2 separate regions of the Homo sapiens genome follow, and region 1 is linked to region 2. Evidence: promoter capture Hi-C in human tissues and cell types (Jung and others, 2019). All regions are on one chromosome and are shown on one strand. Each heading gives the region's core, a stretch centred on a gene start or on the middle of the fragment in contact. The rest is flanking DNA. Distances are from core to core; before and after follow the strand shown. Region 1 has its middle 18 kb from the start of PMPCB. Region 2 holds the start of NAPEPLD (N-acyl phosphatidylethanolamine phospholipase D).

What was found. Contacts are between HindIII fragments. The study calls those that stand out against the background at their distance.
Region 1: a contact is called between a fragment that was not itself captured here and the fragment with the promoter of NAPEPLD in region 2, in 1 of the 25 tissues and cell types used here (hippocampus).

Annotation. Positions count from the first base shown.
Region 1 is chr7:103,275,944-103,283,601 of GRCh38, forward strand. It overlaps the pseudogene DPY19L2P2. Among named protein-coding and RNA genes, the nearest start is that of PMPCB, 18 kb to the right of the region's middle. RefSeq lists enhancers at 3,886-3,935, 4,655-5,176 and a silencer at 4,396-4,545. The HindIII fragment of the contact is 9,582 bases long and covers 1-7,658 here.
Region 2 is chr7:103,145,193-103,151,851 of GRCh38, forward strand. It overlaps NAPEPLD (N-acyl phosphatidylethanolamine phospholipase D), which reads right to left and starts at 3,907. Exons shown (of 5, transcript NM_001122838.3): 1 at 3,619-3,907. LOC105375434 reads left to right here. Exons shown (of 3, transcript XM_047421168.1): 2 at 3,826-5,372. The coding sequence ends at 4,628. It also overlaps the pseudogene RPL23AP95. The HindIII fragment of the contact is 5,120 bases long and covers 971-6,090 here.

The sequences.
Region 1 (7,658 bases), core at 2,678-5,177, 130 kb after region 2:
AAACCCCGTCTCTACTAAAAACACAAAAATTAGCCAGCCATAGTAGTGCATGTCTGTAATCCTCGCTGCTAGGGAGGCTGAGGCAGGAGAATTTCTTGAATCCAGCAGGTGGAGGTTGCAGTGAGCAGAGATCATGCCACTGCACTCCAGCCTGGGTGACAGATAGAGACTCTGTCTCAAAAAAACAAAAACAAAAAAAAACCTTAATTGTATATCTAAAATTCTTGTGGCTTTTTTCACCCTTCCTTCCATCCCAGGCCTCTAAATCAGAACAGAGGCAGGTTAGTGTTTGTTTTTTAAGTTTCAAGTGATTCTAATGTACCAGCCTTGGGAAATACCTCCATAACTGTTGAAGAGGGTTCAGAATATAATTTTAAATAAAATTACTTTAGATCAAAGCAGACTTACAATAAGTATAATATCACATAAAAGATCAACTTTCAAGTGCCAAAGAATACAGGTGTGTACTTGAAGACCTTTTAGTAGTGAAACTCAACAGCTATAGGCAGTGAAGAAAAGAGCATATGTGATAAACAAAATTAGCTATGGCCAACAATTATGCTATAGCTAACTTATGTAGTCAGTACTTTCCAGTGAAGTTGAAAATAAAGCAAAGTTCCATATATTAACCCTGTTTTCCACTAACCCTTCTTTACATGTAGGCCATATGCCAGGGTACCAAAAACTGCAGGAATATTCCCTACCATTGCAGCCTCAGTTCTAACATCAAAATCTCCCTGCAGACTAAATGTCTAGAGCAGCACTGTGTCAATAGAACATAGGGGCAGATCTCATACCTCCCAAGGGTAGAAATCACTGAGCACAGGTAAAAATAAAATATTTCAGAAGGAAATATTATTTTACAAATTTTTATAAACACTTTTGTAAAATAATGTACACAGGCTTGCACACTGAAAGACTCAGAGCCATTTAACCATATAACCACTGCAGAATCTTTACCTTCTTTTTTACCTGATTTCCAATTGGCAGGTGTTACTAAAACTTTATCACCAAAGTTATTTCACTGGCTGAGTGTGGTGGCTCATGCCTGTAATCCCAACACTTTGGGAGGCCGAGGCAGGTGGATCATTTGAGGCCAGGAGTTTGACACCAGCCTGGCCAACATGGTGAAACCTTGTCTCCACCAAAAATACAACAAATTGGCTGGGTCTGGTGGTGCACACCTGTAATCCCAGCTACTTGGAAGGCTGAGGCACAAGGATCACTTGTGCCTGGGAGGCAGAGGTTGCAGTGAGTCAAGATCACACCACTGCACTCCAGCCTGGGAGACAGAGCAAGACTCTGTCTCAAAAAAAAAAAAAAGTTATTTCACTAGCAACATATAATTACCATAAAGTAAAGGAAGGTTTTAAATGAACTACACATGCAAAACACACTAGAAAAGCTAGATATTTAAAGAAACGTGTGGTGAATTATTTGGTAAAGCAAAAATATTTTAATTCATAAGTTACTATTCCCCTAATGCATCTATTTTGTAAATGCTGTTTCACATATGAGGTTTGTAAAAAAGCAAAATACATGTATAAATTGGTGCACATAAAGATGTTCTACAAATATAGCCAGAAGTTATTGTTTTACTGTATGCAAAGAGTGATGGCAATTTTTAATTCAAATGTTTTTAAATATTTCAAACTGAAACTACATCTTACCAATGTAGAATTGCCACAAAGACGGCTGGAATAAAGAAAAAAAGGAAAGTTATTAATAGCTGCTTTATTATAAAATACCATTAAAACAAGTATTTCAAATGTATTATTTTACATGTCTAGAAAGATAGCACACAAAGCAAGACCGCCAGCTAATCCTGTCTCTGTGAGCATAGGAAAAAATCCAGGACACAAAGCAAATTCTGAACAGAGCTTACCTCTCTGCAGCAGGGCTTGATAAGCAAAGGGAGAAACTTGAGAGGGTTTTTTAACTTCAGGTAATTGGTAAGAGTGATGGAATTATGGAAGATTGTGACCTTTTTTGTTTTTTTTCCAGTATTATTTTCTATTCCTTTATATGAAATTTTTAAAAGTAGTAAGTATATACAGTATGCTTCAGCTAGTTCTAACCAAGAGGAGCCACTCTAGATCAGTTTCTCTAGCATTCATCGGAAGATGATTAAATGCAGGAAATCACTTCCTCAGCAGCACATCTAAAAGCCCCAATGTGCAGCTCAACCCTTGATGAATTGCAAGCTTTTTGCAAGAGCCCAGACCTAGGAGCTACTAGATGGCCTAGGATACTAGTATGGAGTCACCTGGGCCAATGCCCCATGTATACATAAGACTTCACCTGGGAGCTGGGAGACACGGCTCTGGGTATGGAGCTTTTACAGGAGCTGCAAACACAGCCTGTGCCCCTGTTTGGTTGGGGAATTCCTTGTTTTCAATTCCCCTGGAGAGAGAAGAGTGGGGAATAGAACAAGTTAAAACACCACAAACTTTGCTGTTCTTATAGAGGTTCAGCAGCTTTTCTTGAATTAATGCCCTTTACATTGTTGTAAACCTTTGGTTAATTTCCAAAGTTTTGAAGGAAATGATTTTGATAATTTTCCAAGTATTTTCATTGTCGTCATGGAGGAGTGCATTTCCTTGGCTATTCCAGAAGTCCTACTTCCCTTCTGAGATTTTATAATGGTATTTCTTATGGTTATCCCAAATATACTTGGCAAGTCATCTTATAAACCACCAATAATAGCCTCTTAAAAATTCAAAAATTACTTCACTTGGCTAACAAAATAAATGCAAATTAATTCAATAATTATTGAAGAAATTAAATTTTTAAAAATTAAAAAATTGCAATGTTGAAATTCTCAACCATGCTTACCCAGATCTTTTCCTATATTACTAACTGTCCTGGGCTTATCTTAAACACTTCTCGGAAGATTTACTTGTTTTATACCAGGATAGGCAAAGTATGGCCCATGGTGTATTTTTGGACTGTCTGCAAGCACGGTTGCTATAATTTTTAAAAGGTTGAAAACTTTAAATGGTTGTAAAGATGCTCATTAATTGTTTATTAGGCTTCATTAATTTTAAAATATACAGACTATCCTGTTCAACTATATTTGTATCCTATTTCTAATTCTCCTAACAATTATATACACTGGCAAAAACTCTTCAGATGATACATAAGGAAAAGGTCAAATATAGTACCAAATTCATCCAGCTTTCCAAAGATGCTCAAAATCTTTCTGTCTCTCACTCCCTCCCTTAACCCACATACCACATATGAAAAAAATGATAAGGTGTAATGATGCCAGTATTCTAAATGCTTGAAGGGCTTATCACATGCCCTTTCCAAGCTGTGACAGAAGCATGTCCCCTGGACCCCAGCATCCTATCAATCTCACCTCTGAAGGTGACCCAGCCTCATACTTCACTGAAACAAAGACCATTAGACGCCAGCACTCCCAGCTTCTTTCATCTCCACTTTAACATTTCTCCATATAGTAATTCTTGCTTTTCTACTCCCTGCCATCTCAGAAAAGGAATTCTCTCTCCTCTTTTCCACAGTTAGCTTCTCACATTTGTGCCTTTAATTCTACCCTTCCAAATATTCCAAGACTTGCTCCACTAATTATTTCCTCTCTTGGAATCTTAATCTCATCCTCTTCCCTTGATCCTTCCCCTCAGCCTTTAAAACTCCTAGACCTTAAAACACTCTCTGCGATCTGACAGCCCTTCAAACCAATATACTCCCTATCTCTCTCTCTCCCCTGGTTCAATGACAAGATTTTTGGCCAACTTCTGTCTACTCGGACCTTGCTATTATTTCCTACTAGGGACCCACAAACCCTTGCTTGTTAAACTGATCTCCTTCAAGACTGAAGAAAAGCGCGATGCGCCTCCCTCCTAGGGCTCTCCTGACCTCTCCTTACCGATGCAGAGTGGTTCTGCTGGGGAACCACCGCGCCTGCAGTTCGTGCACCTCTTCCCGGAGCTGCGCCAGGGAATTACAGACGAACTGGAAGGGGCCGAGAAGGGCCTTGGCCACCACCTTTAGCTCCAAGCCTTTTCGCTTTTTCAGATTTGGGATCCTCCCCGGGGAGGACCTCCTGGCGCCCCCCGGCAGTTTCCCGCCGCCTAGGGCCGACTTTTCCACCTCCCGCTCCCGGGCGGGGGAGGCCCCGCAGGGCCGCTTAGACGGGCTGGGGCGGGAAGATTGCAGCGGCTTTGGGCTTACTCCTTGTTTCTTCATAATTCCTAGTGGAGCTGGGTCAATTTCAGGCACAGCCCAGCCGAGTCAGGCGAGGTCCAGAAAGGCCTGACTCGCCTGGCAGCCTCAACGGACTTGTCCCCGCAGCCGTTGACGAGCCGTTGACTAGCGGACCTCCTGGTCGTCATGGCGACTGTGAAATGTAGGGTGGGGCGCATGCGTTGGAAGCCATTCGCGCGGGCAGTCCCTGCGTGTCCCCCCACGTGCTCCCCAGCGCGCGCAGCACCCCCGCCTCCGCGCTTCCCCGAGCGTGCAGCTTCCGGTGAGGGCAGCCCCACGCACAGCCCCCCACACCCTCCCCAGCGCCTGCAGACTTCGGTGCGCGCAGTTCCTAAGCCCACATGCGCAGTTCTCACCTTGCGCGCAGCCTCACGTACAGCCCCCGACAGGCTCCCAGCCCCACTGGCGCAGAACCCATCACCGCTTGCCCTTCACGCGCTTCATTGGGAGTGCAGCCCCCACCCCGAGCGCACAGCTCCACGCAGCCTCTCCACACTCTCCCCAGCGCCTGCAGCACCCGCAGTGCGCACAGCTCCGCCAGTAGCTTCCCCGCGCGCCGCCCCTGCACCGCTTCGGGCCATAACCTTGCTGGCGACTAAGTCTGAAGAACTTCCCGTGGTTTCATTCTTTTCTTCGCGTTTAGTCTTAGCTCTGACATTTTAACCAAAAGGTTACACGTTAATTAACGAGGTATTGAAGGGGAAGATCTCAGCTGAAAGAAATGACTGTAGGAAGTGTGTCAGGGAAGCCAACGGAACCGCCGGCCCGCCGGTGGTGCTCCGGGCATTAGGAACGTCTCTGCTCTCCTACGATCGCTGAGGTATCGGACAGTCAGTGCCCGTTGCCAACACGGAGGGAACGGGCCGAGACTGCGGGCAACACGTGGCAGAGCCGGCGTGAGTCTGGTGGGTCTGATCCCAGAGCCTCAGGTTGACGCCCCTTCCTTGGCACGGGACAGCGTTTACTGAATCTTAGGGGAAAATGCTTTTCCAATAAGGTTCCTCAGAAGTCATCAGCCCTAGGAGCGGTGTGCTCAAGCGCTTTCAGCACCAGCCAGGACCAACTAAGAGGGGAGCGCTTAGCTCCCAGTCACCGCACAGCCCTACAAGAGGCCAAAGCGGCTGGCACAGATGCACTGGGGCCACTGACATTTTCCATGTCCTCTGTCACGGGCCACATGCTGGAGCCCACACCGCTTCACTTTCCATCTGTTTGATGATGGATCAAATTGAACTCCCATATCCTAACTGACCAGTCTAAAGCATGGCTCATTGTGGCCAGGTTAATTTTTCCTGATGCAACACAGCACAAAAATGTTCGTGGCCCACAAGTCAAGTCCTAGGCTTGCTCACCAATGCCTTCAATATTTGCCCAATATACCTTTTCAACTTTAATTTCCCACTTCCTCGGGCACAAAATCTTCCATCTCAGTCATTTCAGGTGAAGTCCACAGCCTGAGACATCATAACTGCTGAATTCCTTTATTCATGTGGAAAAGCCATCCCTTGGCTTTTACATCCTTTTCTCCCTGCCCATCTGAATGCTGTCACCTTCCAAGCCCCAGCCCATTTCTCCAGCCCATATTAATTATGCTTTTTCTCCAGCCCATATAATTATGCAATATATTCTTGCATTATCTTATCATCTTTGAAACAGAGATGCCTCATGATTTAGCTTTTATATATATATGTTTTTATTATACTTTAAGTTCTAGGGTACACGTGCACAACGTGCAGGTTTGTTACATATGTATACATGTGCCATGTTGGTGTGCTGCACCCATTAACTCAACATTTACATTAGGTATATCTCCTAATGCTATCCCTCCCCGCTCCCCCCACCCCACGACAGGCCCCGGTGTGTGATGTTCCCCTTCCTGTGTCCAAGTGTTCTCATTGTTCAATTCCCACCTGTGAGTGAGAACATGCGGTGTTTGATTTTTTGTCCTTGTGACACTTTGCTGAGAATGCTGGTTTCCAGCTTCATCCATGTCCCTACAAAGGACATGAACTCATCATTTTTTATGGCTGCAGAGTATTCCATGGTGTATATGTGCCACATTTTCTTAATCCAGTCTATCATTGATGGACATTTGGGTTGGTTCCAAGTCTTTGCTATTGTGAATTGTGCCGCAATAAACATATGTGTGCATGTGTCTTTATAGCAGCATGATTTATAATCCTTTGGGCATATACCCAGTAATGGGATGGCTGGGTCAAATGGTATTTCTACTTCTAGATCCCTGAGGAATCGCCACACTGACTTCCACAATGGTTGAACTAGTTTACAGTCCCACCAATAGTGTAAAAGTGTTCCTATTTCTCCACATCCTCTCCAGCACCTGTTGTTTCCTGACTTTTTAATGATCGCCATTCTAACTGGTGTGAGATAGTATCTCATTGTGGTTTTGATTTGCATTTCTCTAATGGCCAGTGATGATGAGCATTTTTTCATGTGTCGGCTGCATATTATTTAGCTTTTTTTTTTTTTCTCAAGATAGGGTCTCACTGTCACACAGGCTAAAGTGTGATGGTGCTCACTGAAACCTTGAACTCCTGGGCTCAAGGTATCCTCCTGCCTCAGCCTCCTGAGTAGCAAGGACTACAGGTGCAGGCCACCACACACAGCTAATTTGTTTATTTTTGTAGAGATGGGGTATCACTATGTTGCCCAGGCTGGTCTAAAACTCCTAGCCTCAAGCATTCATGCCGCCTCTGCCTCCCAAAGTATTGGGATTACAGGTATGAGCCACTGCACCTGGCTGCAAATTATCTGTCTTACATAGAGATCTCTAATCCGGTTATGGATACCTAAAACTTGCCTCAGTTTTTCCTTTGTCTTTTAGTAAAACAATTGGGAATTTTAAAAAATGCAATTAAACTATGTAACCAGCAGATGGCAATAATGATCTGTAAATCAAAATTTCAAAACTTAGTTACTTATTAAATTCATTCTTTAAAAAAAATCACTGTTCTTATAATAAATCCATTTACTAAATATGAAATGTAGGAAAATTCCAAATGTAACCCCACATAAAAATTACATTGCATATTTCATATGTCAAAATAATTAAGATATTCATCATGGCCAAGATTTAGTTTTCCAAATAATAATGACTTTGTTTTAATTGATTCGAATAATTTATTAGATTTAAAGTTTTAACTTTGCACAAATACATATATATAATTTAAGTGGATAGTTAAGTTCCATCTCTAGCCTCCAGGCTAGATAGAGGTAGTTTAGCAAAGACCATTTTGAAAACATTACAAACTTTTCCGGTTATAATTTGGTAATTTAAAATGTGAATTTCACTTTAATTGAAACTTTCTGCATAAAAGATTGGTTTTTATTTGTGCTGTCTCATAATTTCTTATGCATTAAGATACTTTTCCCCCTTTGTACAGTGCAAGGAGTTGGAATTGGCACCAAAG
Region 2 (6,659 bases), core at 2,657-5,156:
TCGGGTGGCTAAGCAAAAGAAAAAAATTATAATGCTATACGTAATCAGGCTTAACTAAGACAATGTTGCTAAGAATACCAAAAAAGTTTATTAGATCAAATTCTTCATTCTGATGATATTCAATATGTGCATCATCAGTATTAGCGTTCACCCAGCTAAAAAAGAGGCTCCAAACAGCACATGTACATTTATATACAATCGGCATTTAGTCTACACATAAAAGTGAGACACTATATGAGGAAAGATTGAGAAAGAAAATCAACTTTCAGCCAAGAATTGTAAAGTATTTCATATCTGTGAAATGGTGGAAAAGCCTAATTTCAATGTTTCAATTTTGAGGTAATCATGACAGGCTAAACTCCTGTGACAGCAGAAATTAAAAATATGCACATTAAAGAGATTGGACCAGGTACATTCCCTCTAAGGTCCCTTCCAACTTGAACATTCCATGACAGAAGTCATCACTTGTGTGACCCTTTTACCTAATCGGTAAACCAAGTCAGGCCAGAGAGTTACATGACATTCCAAGGATCTAGCTCTGGCTGATGATGGAGCCTGGACTACGTATCAGCCATGCTGTCACCCTAATTATGCTTAAAAACACTTGGAACCGAAGGGGCATACAATCAGCATAGGAAGATAAATGACACATTTTACTTTATGTGGGGTATTTTACTTAGTTTGGCTTCAAGTTTAAAAAAAAAAAAAGAATTTGAGTCCAGAAACTCTTTAAGCTTTCATTGGCTACTTTTACCATAAAATAGCACAACATTCTGGAAAACACACACACACACACGCACGCACACACATATATGTTCAGAATATATAGACAGCTTAGTTTAGAGAGCTTTCCATGAGCTCTCTAAACAAACTGAAGGAACAAACACAGTAACTTGAACAGAGAACATCTTTGTAATTGAAGGACCTTCAAAATACAGAAAATAATAACTTTCAAAACTAATGACTGCTGTCATCCGGGTGTCCTATTAAGATGTGACCAGTTTTAGCTGGGTGTGGTGGCACATGCCTGTAATTCCAACTTCTCAGGAGGCTGAGGCATGAGTATCGCTTGAACACACGAGGCACAGGTTGCAGTCAGCCGAGATTGCCCCACCGCACGCTAGCTTGGGTGACAGAGCGAGACTCCGTCTCAAAAAAAAAAAAAAAGATGTGACCAGTTCAAGAGTGCTAGTGACAATGAGAAAGCTTGGTGTTTCTCTATTCATTCTTGTAATTGAGAGAGATTACAAAATCACGCAGAAGCCTACAGGCATTCAGTGTTAAATCAATATATTACTGTCCCTTAATCTGGGAAGGTGCCCAAATTAGATAAACACAAGAGTCTGCACCTTCAAGGGGAAAAATGGATTGTTCCAGGTAGCAGGCACAAACTGAGTTGTTTTTCAATCAAGATTTTGAATTATGCTGATCCATCTACATGCCAGACCTGTGCCTCCAGAGCCAACAGCACTGGCCATTCACAACCTGTTACCCACAGGCAGGGGTGCAATCTGTGAGTGTGTTGCTGACCAACGCTTGCTAATCCACACCCCTCCACTTTCGCTTCATTGGAACCCCGCTGTAACAAGAGTCTGCAGTGTATATATTCTGCTGAAGGCTGGGGCTGCTGAGCTAAGGTTCCTTGGCCAAATCACCAGACTCTCCCAGGCTCTTGGTGTCCTATTTTCCTCATCTGTGGAACAAGGCTCATATTTTATGTCTATAAAATCAAACTCTCTCTATATATATACATATATTTAAAATATTTGAAAGAGCTTTGTAAATGATAAAGTTATAATACATTATTTAACCAGCTGAGGTTGCAGAAGACTATCTCTAACATAAAACTGCCCCTGGGGATATATGAGTTCGTATGCAATCTGTCTCCAAAGTCTGTTAGTAAAATACTTAAATACACAATAAATGGTTAATAAATTCAAAAGACAAATCAAGCAAAGCACTATAAATTGTAGACAGAATTATTCAGTAGTATAGGCGTTAGAATGAAATATTACTTGAATCTTATGCTGGAAATCACATGGGTGATATTTTAATGCCAGTTTTATGCATGCCCTCACTGGCCTCCAGAATAAAAGTGCTCTTTAACGATTAATTATACATACAGTTCATTTCCCTAATAATACTTCAATGAAAACACTTTTTATGTGTATGCATTTCAACCTAAAAAGCCCAGATCAACAGTCCTCCAGCTATAGCTATATTCTTATTTACAAAGTGTAGAAAGCAATGGAAAAACTCACTATATCCACAGCTATCCATCACCACAAAGAAAAAGCAGAATGAAACAACAAAATTAAAGGCAAATACTGCTTTTCCAAACACAGACTAAATGTTCATAAAAATCCTCTCAGTTTACCAAACTCACAAATACTCAAAGTAACATAATACCCCTTTCGAACAAACACAAGAATGACTGTATCAACTAAAGTATAACCAAAACCCTGTGATGGAATGCTTATGCTAAAATGTTCTTCATATAGTTATAACTGGACTAATTTTAAAATTAGAATTTTGTAACATAGAATTTCTACAATATAATTTGGAATTCTGAGTGAAAATAAGGGTATGAGAAATACACTAAGTATTTTTATCTCTTGGAGACTTACCATAATTCTTGTAGCAGGAAAGCCTGCAGAATGTTAACAAAACAAAATCTCTGAAAATCCTGACTATATTTTCAGTTGACTTGAAACAAATTTAACCCCTCAATCTCTCCTTAAATTATTATTTTAAATAAGTACTTTTACCCTAAATTTCTTCTTTAACAGACCCAGTATTTTCTTGCAACAAAAATCACACTATTGTGGGATATAGGTAATCTTCTTTTTAAAGATTACATAACTTCTTTCTAAACGATGTCCATGTCTGCGGCTAATTCATAACCAATGTAACTGAAAATAGAAATGGAAATGTTAGAGATTTCCATTTTTTAACAAACATGGGAATTATTTCTCAATTTGAAGAACTGCATCTCAGGAATGACTTCCTGGACAAATTAATCAGAATTATCAAGTAGCAAACATTTCATGCTAAGCCAAAGCCAACCAGGTGAGTCAGTCATATTATAACATGTATATATAACAACGTACAGTAAAGGCAAAGACAAGAACTAAATGACTTTTTAAAAGGCTGTTAAACTTTACTCACTCCCTTAATATTTTCCAGGTTTAACTGACGTATAATGAATGCATGTGATCCCGGAACCCATGGAAGAGTATCTACCATATCGAGCTCTAGCTTGAAAAAAAAAAAAAAGGAAAAAACAAACAAACAAAACAACAACAACAAAAACCTATCTGAATACGTGTTCTGAAAAGCCCACAATAATACCCAATTTATAAGAAGCAAACAACCACAGAACAGAAAACTCAAGAAAGCACAGCCTTCCACCACCCCTCCCCAGCTAGCCCCATTTTTTTTTTTGCTCTTCATTTCCATTCCATAGTTAAATAAGTACACTTATTCCAAAATAAAAGGGGAGAAACCTGTTGGAATGGATTTTTAGAAGATAAACACTATAGATGAAGCAACAATAAGTTGCTCGGAGGAAGTTGTCGACCCATTCATTTACATACAACCAAAAGAAGATAAACCCACATGTATTCCTATCAGTGAAGATGCAACCTGGTAATTTGCAGGGAAGATAGGATCTCAAATCCCAGACAGCTACTCTCCCAAAGAGAAAAAAAATAATGCTGTGGCTCTTCACCGAGGCAGCTTCAGAGATGCAGGCTCCGCAACTCGCGAGGTGCGAAAATTCAAATGAAGCCCTGTCGCTCACAAGTGCGGCATCTCCGAGATGAGGGAGGGCTCGGGGACGGGAAACCCACTCTCAGCCCGCTCCACTTCGCCGAAGAATTCCAAACCACCCCAGGCTCAGCAGTGTGGATTGCTCCGCCCAGAGACCGTGGAGGAGGCAGCAGAGAGGTCACAGAGCACAGCAGGCGGGAGAAAACCGCCTCCCGCGAGGTCCAACAGAAACCACGGAGCTCCGGACACTCGGGATCCCGGGCCGCGGGCGCGCGGCCAGAGCGGCGGGGTGCGAGCGCGGGGGTGCGGACTCACCTCGCGCTTGGGGTGGCCGGGAGCGCGCGCCGCCTCAGTTCCGCGGCTTCCGGCCACAGAGTCCCCGCGCAAAGCGCCGCCGCGTAGCGGGAGGGGCGACCGCGGCAGGCGCTCGGGTTCTTCCTAACCCGAGCCCGCCGCGCTGGCTCCGCCGAGGACGCCAGCAGCTGCAGGCAGCGCTTCAGCTCTCGCCGCCTCGCCATCGTTGGGGCGAGTCGTCGCCGGGTCACTCCCTTATTATGACCTTCGAATCTGACAGCAGGGCCAGCGGTGGCCTCCTTCAGGCTGCCTCTCCAGCCCTTACCAAGATGGCCGCCCCTGTGGGCCGGGGCGCCGAAGCCATCTTGGTAAAGGAAGCGCCTGGGAGCACGCGGCCTGCCCCGGCCCGCCTCGCGACTCAAACACTCTGCAGGGACCCTCCTAAGATCAAATTGGTTCCCCCCGCTGTCCTAAGCCAGAGGCTTACTTTCAGATCGCATGAACGCATTCCTGGACACCAGCCACAGTTGCTAAAACTAAATGGGATCCTGCAGACCCATTGACGGACTGTCATAGCCAACTCAATCACAGTCGAGAAGCATTTGAATACTTACAGCCTATGGCGCTAGGATCCTGGTAGCGAAGAAACTAAACTCTAATTTGAAATGTTGTACAGTACGTATTGAATATTAATGGGAGCACGGCATTGTTCACTGTGTGATCGTTTACTTTTAAAATGATGTCACAGCCCCCTGGTACACACGGTTCTCATCTAAATTTGCATCTTTTTTAACGCTAGGATAACTATGAAAGAGCATACGATTGTGATTCTGAGTTTCTTACTGGATTTGCTTTTTAAACTGCAGAATGAAATTAGTTGTTTCAAGAAGTAAAGTACAGGCATGTCGAAGTAAAATTCAACAATGGGTTGTTGGGCAAAAAGATTATAAAAGTCCTGGGGTGTGCCAGGGTCAAAAAAAAAAAAAAAAGCTTGTCCCTGGGGTTATCTTGGCAAAAAAGAAACCACCACCACAGGTTCTAAATGCAGATAAGACTGGCAGAAAAATGCAGACCAAACTATTCTGCATTTTGAAAGTGAATGTGCCTGTGTGACATTGGAGGAATGTAAAGAACTGTATGTCAAGTGTGGACTTTATCTCCTCAGGCTAGCTTAGAGTGGCTGCTGAACTTAAGGGTGATTAAGAGCTGCTTGCACCTGGGTGGAGCTGAAACTGCATAAGGTGAATAATACCTTTGTGCAACAGAAGAAAAAAAAAAAAGTAACAGCATACATACAAACCCAAAGGGTAAGTTGAAGTTACTACTCAAAAGTTCTTCATAGTGTTCTTGACTAAGCAACGGAGAAGTAATCCCGGCACTTTGGGAGGGCAAGGCAGGAGAATCCTTAGAGCCCAGGAGTTGGAGACCAACTTGGGCAACATAGCGAGACTTCATCTCTACAAATAATAATTAAAAAAAAAAAAAAGTAGCCAGCCTTGATGGCCCGCCCTTGTGGTCCCAGCTACTCCAGAGGCTGAGGTGGGAGGATCGATTGAGCCTGGGAGATCAAGGCCGCAGTGAGCTGTGATCACGCCACTACACTCCAGCCTGGGCAACAGAGAAGACCCCATTTCCCCAAAAAAAAAAAAAAAGCTGGGCGCAGTGGCTCACGCCTGTAATTCCAGCACTTTGGGAGGCCAAGGCAGGAGGATCACCTGAGGTCAGGAGTTCGAGACCAGCCTGGCCAACATGGCGAAACCCTGTCTCAAGTAAAAATACAAAAACTAGCTAGGCATAGTGGAGCTCACCTGTAATCCCAGCTACTAGGGAGGCTGAGGCAGTAGAACTGCTTGAACCCCAGAGATGGAGGTTGCAGTGAGCAAAGATGGCACCACTGCACTCCAGCCTGGTAGACAGAGCAAGACTCTGTCTCAAAAAAAAAAAAAAAAAAAAGATGCCCTTTGTTCCCCTCACTCCCACTCTTTTTTTTTAAGTCCTTGTCCTTTATTGGTTAAGGCTGAGGGAAGCAGACAGACCAGTTGGACATAGTAGATGGGTGTGTGAGGTCAAAGTGCTACCTGAAAGCCAGCCAACCCACACTCCCCTAAGATGAATGCTAATGCCCTTCAAACTGTGGGCATTGGTTTCACACACAGCCTCTTCCAGGGATAAAAGAAGGGGTTCTTGTAAAGCCTCTTCTTTTTTCTTTTTTTTTTGAGACGGAGTCTCGTTCTGTCACCCAGGCTGAAGTGCAGTGGCCAGATCTTGGCTCGCTGCAACCTCTGCCTCCCAGATTCTCCTGCCTCAGCCTCCTGAGTAGCTGGGACTACAGGTGCCCACCACCATGCCCGGCTAATTTTTGTCTTTTTAGTGGACATGGGGTTTCACCATGTTGGCCAGGCTGATCTCGAACTCCTGGCCTCAAGTGATTTGCCCGCCTGGGCCTCCCAAAGTGATAGGCTTGAGCCACCGCCACCCGGCAGCTTCTTGTTTTCTTACCTCTACCATGGAGACAAGTTCTGGTTTTCTTAGGACAACTAGCTCTGGTCATAAAGATCTCTGGAGTGATCAAGTATGGTGGAGTGGCAGAGTGA